3 separate regions of the Homo sapiens genome follow, and all the other regions are linked to region 1. The links are contacts of gene promoters, found by promoter capture Hi-C in human tissues and cell types (Jung and others, 2019). All regions are on one chromosome and are shown on one strand. Each heading gives the region's core, a stretch centred on a gene start or on the middle of the fragment in contact. The rest is flanking DNA. Distances are from core to core; before and after follow the strand shown.

Region 1 (4,507 bases), core at 597-3,096:
GCCGTACGAGCTTCCCTCGCTGTCCCTGAGCGCAAATGAGCCTCTTCAGTCGCCGAGGCCCGGCCGCTTAGCTCTCGGAGCCTTCCACAGCCCAACACCCTGAGCCCTGGAGTAGGCAATTTGCTCCCACAGCCCTGTGCTGGCCCTTCCAGGCACAGGGAGTCCCCCTTCTAGGGGTAGGGGCGGGCGGGATGAAGCGCACCCAGCCCTCTCTCCTACCCTTCCTCCTTTGGTCCCTTCGGCTTTCGTGTACCTTATCTCCCGCGCGCCCAGCTCCTTGGCCGGCTCACCTGCTAAGCGGAGCGCGGACATGCGCTGGAACTCCGGCTCCTGCAGCCACTTCCACATCCTCCGGAAGGTCTCCCGGCCGGATTTGAGTTTGCTCCAGGGTTTGGGGTTGCGCAGCAGGTCCGAGAGGGTCCCCTGGGAGCGGCAGAGCACCCTCTGCGCGAAGATGGCCTGTGGGATGCTGTAGCGCTTGAGCTCGGTGGTGATACGCTGCGCCACCTCTTTGGTATTGATCTCTTCCATCTGCCCTGAATTACTTCCATTGCTGACCTGCGCGCCGGTCACCGAAGGGTTGGGCTCCCGGGCTGTGCCCAGGAGTTGCCCGTGGCCCTGGGCGTTCAGGTGGGCGTGGGGATGGTGCGGAGGAAGGCCGTTGATGGGCACCATGCCGGCCGAGGTGGGCGTGAGGTGCTGCTCCCCGTGGCGGCCGAGCATGGCCGGGTGGTGGGCTTCGAAGCCGTTGGGGGTGAGCATCTTGTCGGTGGGCATGGCGGCCCCCGGGTGGGCATAGTGGGGGAGCCCTTGCTGGGAGTTGTGGATGCTGCCCAGACCGGAGCTGGAGAGGGGCGAGAGGCTCTGGCCCATGCCGGCCACGTCCTTGTGGTAGGGGGTATAGAGGTTATTCATGGAGGCCAGCCCGCGCTCATCCCGCATGAGCGTGAAGCTACCGCTCACGTTGCCCGCCAGGCGCTGGTGGTGGTGCGGGTGGTGGTGGTGATGGTGGTGGTGGTGATGGTGGGGGAACTTGTCCGAGACTGTGGAGATGGGAGGCAGCGGCTGCAGAGGGGTCAAGGTGGTGTAGGTGGTGGGCATGCTCATACCTGGGGGAGTCTCGCAGGCCATGGTCATGGTGGGATGCAGGGGGCCGGCCAGGCTGTGCTCAGGGGCCCGGTGGTGGTGGTGGTAATCTCCGCCGCCGCTGCCGCCGTCCAGCAGGGACGCCATGCCCATGGAGCGCGGGTGCGCGGGGGGCAGGTGGCTGCCGCGGTGCGCCACGGAGCTGCGCGCGTGGGGGCTGCCGCCCAGCAGGTCGGCAGGGGCGGGCACCGGCTCATGGCTCACCCCGTGCAGCTCGCCGATCGCTTCCATGGTCAGCTGCGCGTTCATCGTGATCCGGGCGAGCAGGCGGCGGACACAACATCGATGTGGCCAGGCAGAGGCGGCGAGGGGCGCACGGAGTCCGGTCTTCACATCGGCTGCTGGCGACTGTTGCCTTCCTTCCTCTCACTGTGGGGCTCTGTCTCTCTCTCTCTCTCTCTCCGTGTGTGTGTGTCCGTGTGTGCGTGTGCGTGTGTGTGTGTGTGTGTGTCTCGCCTTCCCTCTTACCCCCCACCTTCCCCTCTGCGTCCTCGGCTTTTTTTTTTTTAATATTAATTTCCAAAGAGGATCCGCGCCGTTGGGAGAGCGCAGTGCCCCAGCCCGCCCGCCTCGGCCACCTCTCGCCCCTCTCTTTCTTAAAATTCTGAGGTCTCCGGCTCCCCTGCCGCGGCCCGCGCGCCTGCCGCGTCTGCTGCCTGCCCGCCCCGCTGGCCAGCTTGAGCCATGGCTCTGTTACTGTTACAGACTCTGTGGCCGCGGTTCGGTAGCCGCCGCCGCCGCCGCCGCAGCGGCCCGCCCTCACGCCCGCCAGGCGCAGCGCGCATGCGCGAGGCCCGCCCCCGCCCCCTAGGTCGCGGCGCGCCAGGCCCTTGGCGTCCCGGTACAAATGAAGGAGGGGGCCCAGCGCCTTCCCTGCGGCGCTGGATGGCCAGGGAGCTGCGGGCACGTGCGAAAGATTGGCGCAGAGCGCGACCTGGGGCCGCCGCTGCAATCCCAGGAGACTCGCGCCTGGCTCGCTCGCCTCCCTTGCTTGAGTGGGCTCTGTCCTCCCAGCCCGGGGACGCTCGTGTCGGGCTTCTAGCGGCTGGAGTGCTGTGCTTGGAGACATCGCCCCTCTCTCTCCAGTTGCTGCTTCCCGGTGCAGCTTGCCCGGGGAGCTGGGGACTGTGTCATCACCCCTTCGGCTCTAGCCCACTAAGCTTTATTTCCCGGGGGGCTGCTGGGAGTGCGCTTTCCCACCCTTGAATTCACGGCCTATTGGGGGATGGGGGTTGGGGTGGGGTGGGGTGCAGATTGCTTAAAGGGCTGGGTCCGTTTGGCGGCCGTTGACCCGGCACCCTTCGTCCTCCCAGATACATACTTGCCCACCCTTTCTCATCCATGCCCTGGGGAGAGGAGTAATCAGTGCCAAGAATCCCAGTTCGGGCCATACCTCACTGTCCCCCGCCGCCTGGCTCCTTCTCCCGCTCAGCTCATAATTAAGGCTGTGCGTCCGCTTCGCCGATGACTCGGCCTGTGGAGGGGGGCGAGGGAGAGCGGAGGGAGTGCCCTGGAGGGTACCCATGTTAACTTCCGGGTGCTGGTGGGGCCGTGGAGGCTCGGGCCGTCCCTGCGGTTACTCCCAAGGCCCTCCTGCTAAAGCACCCGGAGGCGGTTGCTTTCCAGAAGTACTGACGCAGACAGGGTGGACGCCGGCGCGCGGGTCTCCGCTTGGCCCCTAGGGACGCCCTTTTCCCGGCGTCCCCGAGAGACGCCTCCAGATTTGAAAATCAATTCAGCTTCGGGAGTAATTTCGCCCTTCCCACAGTCACGCTCCAATCTGGAATCGAACCTGGTCTTTGGGCCTGGTGGGGACGTGTGCGGAGGCCCCCAGTTTGAGACGTACACCCGGCCGCCACATGCCGCGGCTTTCTTTCATTTACAAAAGAAAGAAAAAAAATCCGCAACAAAAGGCAGAGCCGTGTCCGCTTAGGTGCTTTCATCCCTCAGAGAAAGGACAGATGTGCCCATTGTCCAGCCCGTGGCAGTTATGGCCGGGTCAGCGCCGAGCCTCAGCCCCAGGCAAGCGGTGGTTACAATGAGAATAGCCTCTCAGAGCCGGGGTATCTGGACTCAGATATGGAATAAAGTGTGTGTAGCCTGTGCTGGGCCAGACTCAGACTGTAGGTTTGCTTGCTGGGGCACCGAACTGCAGCCCACCCGTGGTGTTTCCACTGCAAATGCTCCCAAGCCCTTAGAGAGGCCAAGGCTGTGGTAGTGGTGGTAGTTGGGTTTCCAAGGCAAAAGTTTGGGCTGGCCAACCCTTTGGGAAAAGTTCCCACCGGCCCAGGCATGAGTAGGCCTATCTCTTTGCCCAGGTCCCTGCTACCACCAGGGCAACATCCTAATCCAGGTAGGTCAAGTTCAGTGGATACAGTCAACGTGACTTCCTTGAAGGCGGCCATGTCCTGGGACTGGTTAATCTAGCTGGTTTTATCACCAGAGGCACTCCCATCCTGTCCAAACAATGCATATGGAGGCCCTGCAAATAATTCATCTCAATGGATTTCATGTCTACTTTCATAATGAACAGTTAGGAATTTAGGAACCCCCAGAGAAGAAAAGATATTTTAGGGAAAATACACTGATGTAAAGGAACTCAGAAAACACGATTAACTCTTTAAACTTGTATCTATATCTACCTATTCATACACGCATACACACAAGCACAAAACATATATTTCCTGCCTAGTATATTACAGTACCTTGGTGGAAAGCTGCATCTTTGGTTTTTAATTGTTTCCATTCTCATTTCCTACAGCATGAGACCAAACAATGGGTTAAAGTAGCAGGGAGTCTTTCAGCTAAACAGTTGTCCCCCCGCCCCCGCCCCAATATTTTAATCCCGCTGAAGTGATTGATTTGCCCTTATGACAACTATCTTCCCAAAAGGCAGTTTGTTAAAAGAAAGAAAGAAGTAAATACCACCAAGTGCACAAATTGTTCATGGTTTTCTCTTTGTGTAGCTAATTAGGAACTTGATCTTGGAAACCCTCCTTCATGAGAGGCACTCAGCTGAGCCTCTGGAGTCCACCTGAATAAGGCTGGCATCAGGTGAGCTCAACTTCCCCTCTCCCCCAAGGGCATTTATGAAAAGGGGGGCTGGCTCTGTGTTGGTCCCTAAAGAAGGAGCCAACGAAAAGACCTGGAGAAGCACCATATGTGTTGGCTTGCTCAGTAATTTTTGATTTTTTTCTAAAACATTAAAATATTGTATGTGCAGGATTTGCTTTGGTTTGCAAATCTCCCTAATCTTTCTTGGCTATTCACACCATTTATCTAACCATTGTTCTCCCGTAATTGACTGAGTTGCAGTGGTTTCTCAGTCAGAAACAACATATTACTGTGTTCTTATTTGACC
Region 2 (4,507 bases), core at 976-3,475, 180 kb after region 1:
TTAATGTTTTGCATTGGTTTTTGGCACCTAATATGCCAGCATGATTCATCCCTTAGATGACTTGAAGTTTCCTGTAAAGTCGGAAAATACTTTATCTGTGCAGCCTTAGACACACACACACAAAATGAGTATTTCATTCAAACCTTTTGATCCACGCAAATATTTTTTACTTGCCAAATCCCTGAAGTTTTTTTCTTCCTGTTATAGTTAAATTTACTAATTTAGTCAGTGAGAAAGATAAGCAAGAATGTATTGGCGAAGTCACCTATCTCTTCAAACAGCTGATGTTCTCGCAAATCAGAATTGATTTGAATTAAGGTGAATGATAAACGTGCACTGTCAGACCACTCCTGGGAGTCGACAGGGTGAGTTTTCAGGGTGAATTTTCTTTGTCCTCCTGGCCTCAGGCTGACTCTAGGTCTGTCTTTCTCTCCTTACCAAAGCTGACTTTATCTCTCTCTACCTCATTCCCTTCATCCCATTTCCAGCCCCGGCCATTGAGGTGGATGAAAGCTGAGCCTTGCTGCGCCAACTTGAGTCTCGTTCACCCTGAGCAGTCACAGATGGGTCTTGTCTTTTCAGATGCTCCACGAGGCCATTGTCACAATTCCAAGAGCCTGCTGGGTGAGTCTCGGTCTGTGGGGAAACACTTGCAGGGACGTGGACCCCTGAGATTCTGAAATGTGGGCGAGCAACTCTCCACATGTGGAAGTGTTGGCGGGACCCATTCATAGATTCCTGCTGTGTTGAGCAGCAGAAATCGCAAGATATATGGTCTTTTCTTTCACACACTCCCACCCCGCAGCCTGGAATGTTCCCCCTCCCAGCACTAACATTTTTGAATGTTCTGCTGAGCAGCTCTGGGTCATTCTAGGAAGTGAATACAAGAGAATACTCACCTTGAAATCAAGGAACACATTCCCTTGACTCCTGTGGACTCTTCCTCCTCCTTTGCAGATTGCTTCAAGTTCCTTTGCCCCTTGGTCCTATTCTTCCTTCAAATCTCATCTCAGAAATGCCTGGGAAGCCTTTTCTGGCCCATGCCTCTCACTCCAGATGCAAACTGTACCTTAGGCCTCCACATCCTTGGGCACGTCCTCTATCATGGCCCCCACTGGCTGAATCTTGAATTTTTGCTGCATTTGTCTCCCCAGGGATCTCCAGGAAGGCAGAGATCCAGACCCTGACATGTCCTGGGTGCTTAGAAAATGCTTGTTGAATGCACATTCCTCAGGGCCAAAGGTAGAACTGAGCAGAGTATATCCTGGCTTAAGTGATTATAATATATACTTTACATAAATTACCTAAGAATAGTAGAGTCTGGAATTAAGAACGGTGCTAAATTGACATATGTACCTTGTGTGAGTAATGGCTTTTATAATTGACTAGATCATCTAAAAAACAGAAGAAGTACATGTTATACATATTAGCATTTTATAAGCATGTAATTTAAGCTTATAATTCTACGTCAGTCATTGGAATTATGTTATATGTAGAAAATCAAACAGATGTTCAAAGGGGTGACCTGTCACTGTCCAAATTCAGAAAAATGGTAAAGGCTGTTCAAAACCAGCTTATGTGTCAATAAACATTGAAAGAGATATTCTTTTGATATTTAAAAACCAAACAAAATAAAGAGGCCATTCTTCCTAGAGGACAATTTGAGACAGAGTCAGTCAGAAGCAAAGATGAAAAGTCTTGCTTCCTTCTTTATTCCCAGTTGGTACAGAGAGAAGATACTAGGCATTTCTGACTTACGGAATTTCTCCTCTCCCATGGGTTCCTGCATTCATGTTTTCCAAAGCCCAAGGAATTATAGAGGTTTTTCCAGGACCTAAAAGAGAGCCTGACTGCCTGACTGATTAGGACATTCGTTGACCGGTGGACTCACATTGATAAAGCACCTATTATGTGCCAGCCACCTGGGATAAATCTAAAATAACATAAAGTTTCTTCTCTCTAAAACTTAAATGTCTAAAAGATGTTGATTGGGTCAAGAAAAAACCTTAAATGTCATAGAGAGGTGTCTAGTCTTTAAGATCACCAGAAACCACAGATGATACTTGGTATCTCTACGTACCTTTAATAGTCAAACTTAATGGCTATACTTGTAATATTTTCAGGTTTTGGGGACCTGGATTTAATGTTCAGGTAGATTAAAATAATGTGGGTTATTTTTTGTGCATTCTAGGAAACTTCAATTTGCTTTTAAAAGATACACTACTTTAATATTTTTTTTTTGGAATTAGGCAGAATGGAAAACAAATAAATATACACATGAGTTTTGAATGGTCCCAAACTTGGATATAGAGAATAAGCCATTTGGCAGATAGATCTGCTTAAGTGCAAACCATTTCTGCATACTAATTATACGTATAATCAGATATGCATGAAAAGGTACACACACAGATAGTTATTATTGATCATGGATTAAAGGGCCTGAGAGCTGGAAAGGACCTAAGTTCATGCATCCCACCTCCTTCATTTGTAAAACTCACCACTACAAGTAATAATAATAATAATCATAAACTAGCAGTCATTTTCAGCACCTTATGTGATGTCCACCAGGCTATAGTCTCCACAAAGGCAGGAGTCAGCTTTATTTACCGTTATATGCTTAGTGTCTACCTTGGTGCCTACCCATAGTTAGCACTCAGCCACTCACAAGGCACAAATGAATGACATGTGCCAGGCTCTGTACCAGTCACTTCCCATACATCACTCCACTGAACCACCAAAACCGCCCATAGTCAGTATTACAATCTTTATTTTGCAGATGAAGTAACAAAGCCAGGAGAGGTACAGTAATGTGTTCAGGCTAATGGCTTGTTGTTAATGGAAAAGAGCAAAGATGAAAATTCAGATCTCCTGACCTCCTGCTCTAGGAGTCTTTCCATTGACTATCTTACCGTCTCTGTGAGCATGTACTCTGGTGTGTGCTAAAGATCAAACTTGGATTAATGTCTATAAACAAGGTATGATTATCACCAAATTAATTAGTGAAGGTCATATTTACACTTCACCAAGTGTCAACTGGAGTTATTTGAAAGAAGATTGCCTCAATTTATTGCAGTCAGTCATTGTTGCCCCTCCATAATAGGCAGCGAGCTTGAATTTCACAAATCTATGTGAATTGCTATCTTGCATTTCTTAGAAGAGACTGAGCCTCAGTCAGTATTTTTATAGTAGGACAGTTCTGTGGAAGACTCTGGGTGTTACTTAAGCTAATAAATGACTATCCTTCAAAACAGAATTACAGGCAATAACCTAATTAATGAAGGTGGTAACAGAGACTCTTTGTTTACAATGTCCCCATTGCCCAAGTTTGGTCACTGGCTGGACTATCTGTGTCCCCAGTGATTTACGAATCCAAAGGAAAGTGGAGAAAACATAAAATTTATTTTTCCACAATTTGAGGCATGAGCTTCTCTAGCATTTCAGAGCCCTACATTTCTGTGATGGGCTTTGATTCAATCCAGCCTGAATGAAAGACATTTCATCACCCCAGAATGCATTTCTTTATTTGCCTTGGATCTATGATTCTGTCAGTATTGAGAGAAAAGAAAAATCAATGCTGCACTATAAACCTCGGGCCGCCTCTGGCCAACGTGGTCAGCATGGTGTGAGCAAAGGAAATGGCAGGGGAAAAAATTGACCGCTCAGCAAGAGTGTGGCCAGTAACGGACACAGCTCAGGGCTAATAACAGCTTGCAATTACACATGGAAAGCCATAGCGTGTAGGGCATTCAGTGCGAGGGGGATGTAATACAATTTATTGAACCACCGGTTAGAGTTCTGCAGCTTCTCAATAAAAAAAGAGCGTTAGGCCTGTACTCCTTAAAACACAGACTTACATAGTGCCGACAGGTGAAGGAGACTTGGAAAACTGGAAAGACTTGTCTTAGCTGGAGAGCAATCAGAAGATGACTATAGCCTATTTGCATTTAAAATTATGCATCTAAACCGGGCGCAGTGGCTCACGCCTGTAATCCCAGCACTTTGGGAGGCAGAGGCAGGCAGATCACTTGAGGCCAGGAGCTCAAGACTAGCCTGGACAACATGGTGAAACAACGTTTCTACAAAAAAACAAAAAACAAGAAACAAAAAACGAAAATCCCAGCTACTCGGGAGACTGAGGCACAAGAATCACTTGAACCTGGGAGGCGGAGATTGCAGTGAGCTGAGATAGTGCCACTGCACTCCAGCCTGGGTGACAGAACACGACTGTATTTTTTTTTAAATTAGGTATCTATCTATATATTAATCAATCAGATTTGGTGCACACATAGAGTTTTGGCATCTACTTATTCTGTCTCTCTCTCCATAAAATTCCAGTTTAGGGATCTGTGTCTGACCATATCTAAAACCAAGTTAACAGTAATAAACAAACAAATATACAGATGCTGAATATATACATTTTGTGGTAAAACATGCAGAAACTATCCACGCTTGGTACTTCACTAGCAGCTTTGCTGATGCATTCTGCCCTGGTCATCCACTTTCTTAG
Region 3 (4,507 bases), core at 1,265-3,764, 130 kb after region 1:
GAAGGATGAAGTGAGAATCACTCTGTGTCTTCATGAATGGATTCACATTTATTCATTGATAGGGAACGGCCTCAATCACAGTATCTTCTATTCTTTATGAATTGACTTTGTCTTCCAAAGCTTAGAAAGTAGATCTGTCTGGAACGAGAATGCTTTTTTTGCAGGGCCAGGGGAAGTTTGTGGGAGGGAGGGAGTGCATTTCCCTTTCCAGGAAGACCCTGGGCTGCCACTCTTCTTTCCTAGGAGCCTTTTTTGAGGCTCTCCTCTACTCCACGGATCAGGCATTGAAGACTGTCTGCATAGTCGTTTGGCTACTTTGTTTTGGAAAGGAAAGGGACTAATGTGTGCCACCTTTTGTGTCTCTGGAGATAGGAGAGAGGATAAAGACAACATAACCTGGGGGTAAAAAGATACCATTCACAGATTTCAGGATACTTTCTAAGGATGGCCTGGATCCTTCTTTTGTGCATTGATGGGGACCTCTAATAAACTGCAGTCCATTAGAGGTGGCTGCTCAAATGCAGAGTATAGAGCAGGGCTTCTCTACCTCCACATGACTGCCATTTTGGGCAGGATGATTCTTTGTGGTGGGTGTGAGGGACTGTCTTGTGCATTGTGGGATGTTTACCAGCATCTCTGGCCTCGACCCACTAGATGCCAATAGCATTTCCCTTGGTTGTGACAACCAAAAATGCCTCTCCAGACATTGTCAAATATCCCTGGAGGTCTGGGTGAGGGGCAAAATTGCCCCTGCTGCTGAGAATCCCTGGCATGGAGGGAGCAGCAATCCTTGATTACTTGCTCTGAGGTTTCAATGGCTTAGCATGAAATGGGCTAACTGCCTCAGTCTGAACCTGAGAACACATCCAACAAGTTTGTTCATTCAACAGTATTTATTGAGATATTCTACTTTTGGCAAATATATGTTGGTCTCAGTCTAAGCATGTGCATATAAAAATATGTGTGTGTAATGTATGGTGCTCTCTGGGAAGTACCTCATATTCTCAAGGGTAACAGGGGACTACAACTAGAGCTGTCCTACCTGCCTCTTCGGGCTTTGGATTAAATGTGGAAATGTGCCTGATGGAACTTTGCAAACACAAGAACAAACTATGCACAGGTGTTATGCATTGAAGTCAGGGATTGCATCATGGATGCATTCTCTTCAGTTCTGGGTACCACATGGGCAGGTGCCAAGTCTTACCACTTCAGCAAATGCTGATTATGGTGACTTTGCAAGAAAAATAGGACATGATCTTCTTGTAACTTATGACTCCCTACCTTTGCTCCCAGAGCACCTGCCTTCCCAGCCTTGGAGTAAGAATTGGGATATATATAGCAGTTCTCTCTGACAGTGGCTGTAAGCTTCACTGGTCCATGGTGGCTGGTGTGGCTAGGGACTACGATTGCTGACTAGGATTGAGCCTGTGGGTATAAATGAAGGCTCTGGTTGTGGTAGGCACTGTATGCTGCACAGGACCAGATCTGACCTGGGAAGCATCAGTCAAGGGGGCTGCTGCCTGAACTGCATCTAGGGGGAACGTAATTCCAGGGGAGGTGGGGAGGTGGCAGCTAGATGTGGAGGGAGCTGGAAGGTAAGTACAAAATTGTGCTCAGGGTAAGCACAGAGCCACACAATTTAACCATCCATTTGGGTCTAGTAGCTGTGGCAGCTGTGGCAATATTATTCCAAGTTCAGAAAAACAGAGCTTGAGGAAGAGCCAGGCAGAGTGGAGGAGCAAGAAGCTTCTGGCTGGTTTTAGTGAATAGGGACAGAAATCCAAAATGTCTCTTGCAGGGTGCTGCCTGCCTGAGTGTGTCTAGAGGCCTAGAGATGGGCCAGAAAGTCTGGAATAGGAATGGGAGCTGGAGGAAATTTTCTGCTCTGACTATTTTTTTCTTATTTTATTTCTTCTTCTAAAAAAAAAAAAACAGGATACATGTTCAGAATGTGCAGGTTTGTTACATAGGTATACGTGTGCATGGTGATTTGCTTCATGTATTGACCTGTCCTCTAAGTTCCCTCCCCTCAATCCCCACCCCCAACAGGCTCTGGCGTGTGTTTTTCCCCTCTCTGTGTCCATGTGTTCTCAATGTTCAACTCCCACTTACAAGTGAGAACATGCGGTATTTGGTTTTTCTGTTCCTGTGTTACTTTGCTGAGAATGATGGCTTCCAGCTTCATTCATGTTCCTGCAAAGGACATGATCCCATTCTTTTCATGGCTGCATAGTATTCCATGGTGTATATGTACCACATTTTCTTTATCCAATCTATCACTGATGGGCATTTTCGTTGGTTCCAAGTCTTTGCTATTGTAAATAGTGATATAATAAACAAACATGGGCATGTGTCTTTATAGTGCTGTGACTTTTTGATAGTAATACTTAGGGATGAGGCCCTTTATATTCATTCATTCAATCAGTCATTCAACAAACGTTTGAGTGTCTACTCTGTATGAAGCTCAGAGCTGGGAGCCACAGCAGATACAAAGAGGGAAAAGATATAGATGGAGCAGCTGGAAGTCTAGAAAGGAAGGAGCAGCATACCCACAAATCATGACCGTAGGACACAGCAAGTGTCAGGAGTGTCTGGAGGAGGGAGACAAAATACATAAGGCATGGAAGTGGCTCACAATGGGATTAGTAATATTTTTTATTTTTGTCTATTTATTATTTAATTATTTTTTAGAAATAAGGTCTTGTTCAACCACTTAGGCTGGAGTGCAGTAGTACAATCATAGCTCACTGCAGCCTAGACCTCCCAGGCTCAAAAAATCCTCTTGCCTCAGCCTTCTGAGTAGCTAGGACTGCAGGTGGATGCCGCCATACCTAGCTAATTTTTATTTTTTTTGTAGAGATGGGGGTCTCCCTATGTTGCCCAGGCTGGTCTTGAACTCCTGGGCTCAAGCCACCCTCCTGCCTTGGCCTCCCGAAGTGCTGGAACTACAGACATGAGCCACCACGCCCAGCCAGGATTAGTGATTAGTTAAAGTACTTATTGCCTGGGAAAAGCCCAGGAAGATGGACAGTGGGTGAAGGTAGTTAGGTTAACCTACTGAAGCTCAGATCTTGTTCTTGTTTCATTTCTTAAGATAGACGGAGTTTCATGGTTTGAGGGTCCGATTGCTCATAGGTTTTGGTGGTTGGTTATGGCCCTCCAGAAAGCACTGGCTTTCAACAGCCATGGACGGCTTATTGTACGTCTTTTTCAAAGGCCACTTTCTTCCTGGTGGATGTTTTCATCACGGGCATCCCATTCAGGGAAGCCTCTAAAGTGTAGAGGGTGTGGACAGCCTGGGGTTTTTACAGAGACCGACCTGGGTATATTTGAGGATTTTTGTCCCAGCTTACTCCAGTGACACATACTTTCCACACGAACTGCCCAAGAATTGGATTAAACCCTTTCTCTTAGCCCCATTCCTGATAGCATTGGTCTAGACTTCCCCTGCAATCTCTCCACAAAATAACAAAAATATTGACAAAAATAATGGAAACGATGGCAATTAACCTGCCTCTAACCCCTCCCTGCCTTAGGTTGTCACTGCAGCAGATAAAACCTATTTTATGGGAGACCAAACCACTGCCACAATTCCTAAAGTAAAGTTTATTTGCACAGAAAAGGAAAGGCAACTTTTTATTTGTCACCCTGCTGAGAAGAAATATGATTCCTGTCCTCTCACTTCACATTAGCTTTCCTTTTCCCCGCATGTTTTCATCCTATGGTGTCTGATCATTTTACAGAAAGGAGGATTTCTGCTTTTGACCTTACCTCTTGCTCTTGTAACATTCCAATTTTTAGATGGTCAGTCACCATTTGCCAGTTTTTGGGGGTGGGGGTGGGAACATGTTTCGAAGCTTAAGCATACAAGGCTCTTGCCCATTTTTCAAAAAGCGTGCTGGGTAGCTGGTTTCCATGTGATAGTGGCTCCTCGGGAAAGCTATTCTTTCATGCAGCAGCAGCGCTGGCATTGATCAGTGGGAAAGTTCAAGGCGGCAACTCATCAAGCATGCCTTCAATACCAGATTCCAGACAAGGTCTGCAATAAATAAGAGCAGTAACAAAGAATCATATTTCCTTCTTGCACAGAAAATCAGCAATGACATAGTTCTAAATTTCAGGGTTCGGGGATGGTGTCTTCTCCCTGCACTGCAAGTTGAAAGCAGAATGGCTTTTTCCTTTGAGAAGTGACATCCACGTGCATTTTAGCTGTTCTTTCCATAGAAACAGAGTCAAAATATAATTTTGAATATGTGGGTTGACTGGGGATTTTTCAGCTTGTGTATTGATTATTGCTTGAGTTGTTCAAATAGAACCTGTATTGTTAAAAACATGTTTTGAACATATTTTCCCACATTTGTTTTAATTGACTTATCTCCCTTTCTCCTCTAATCCTTTTCCCCCAGTAATAATGTCGAGATTTTCATGTGAACATACAAAAATAACAAAATTTTGCTTTAAGTAGATAGGTGAAAATTTTTTTAAAATGGCAGTGTGATAAAAAAAT

The links. The method cuts DNA at HindIII sites, captures the fragments that hold promoters and counts their contacts. A contact is called where the count stands out against the background at its distance.
Region 2: a fragment that was not itself captured here is called in contact with the fragment with the promoter of ONECUT1 in region 1 in 3 of the 25 tissues and cell types used here (H1 embryonic stem cells, mesendoderm cells and thymus).
Region 3: a fragment that was not itself captured here is called in contact with the fragment with the promoter of ONECUT1 in region 1 in 2 of the 25 tissues and cell types used here (H1 embryonic stem cells and thymus).

Annotation. Positions count from the first base shown.
Region 1 is chr15:52,788,490-52,792,996 of GRCh38, forward strand. ONECUT1 (one cut homeobox 1) reads right to left here and starts at 1,847. Exons shown (of 2, transcript NM_004498.4): 1 at 291-1,847. The coding sequence starts at 1,395. It overlaps LOC105370824 (a long non-coding RNA gene), which reads left to right and starts at 1,941. Exons shown (of 2, transcript XR_001751550.2): 1 at 1,941-4,200. RefSeq lists enhancers at 1,843-2,137, 2,134-2,902, 2,903-3,670 and a silencer at 1,885-1,954. The HindIII fragment of the contact is 12,558 bases long and covers 1-4,507 here.
Region 2 is chr15:52,970,915-52,975,421 of GRCh38, forward strand. LOC107983981 (a long non-coding RNA gene) reads left to right here. Exons shown (of 6, transcript XR_932257.3): 3 at 489-624. Among named protein-coding and RNA genes, the nearest start is that of LINC02490, 140 kb to the right of the region's middle. The HindIII fragment of the contact is 5,009 bases long and covers 1-4,507 here.
Region 3 is chr15:52,919,851-52,924,357 of GRCh38, forward strand. All of the region lies in intron 2 of LOC107983981 (a long non-coding RNA gene), which reads left to right. Among named protein-coding and RNA genes, the nearest start is that of ONECUT1, 130 kb to the left of the region's middle. The HindIII fragment of the contact is 3,545 bases long and covers 743-4,287 here.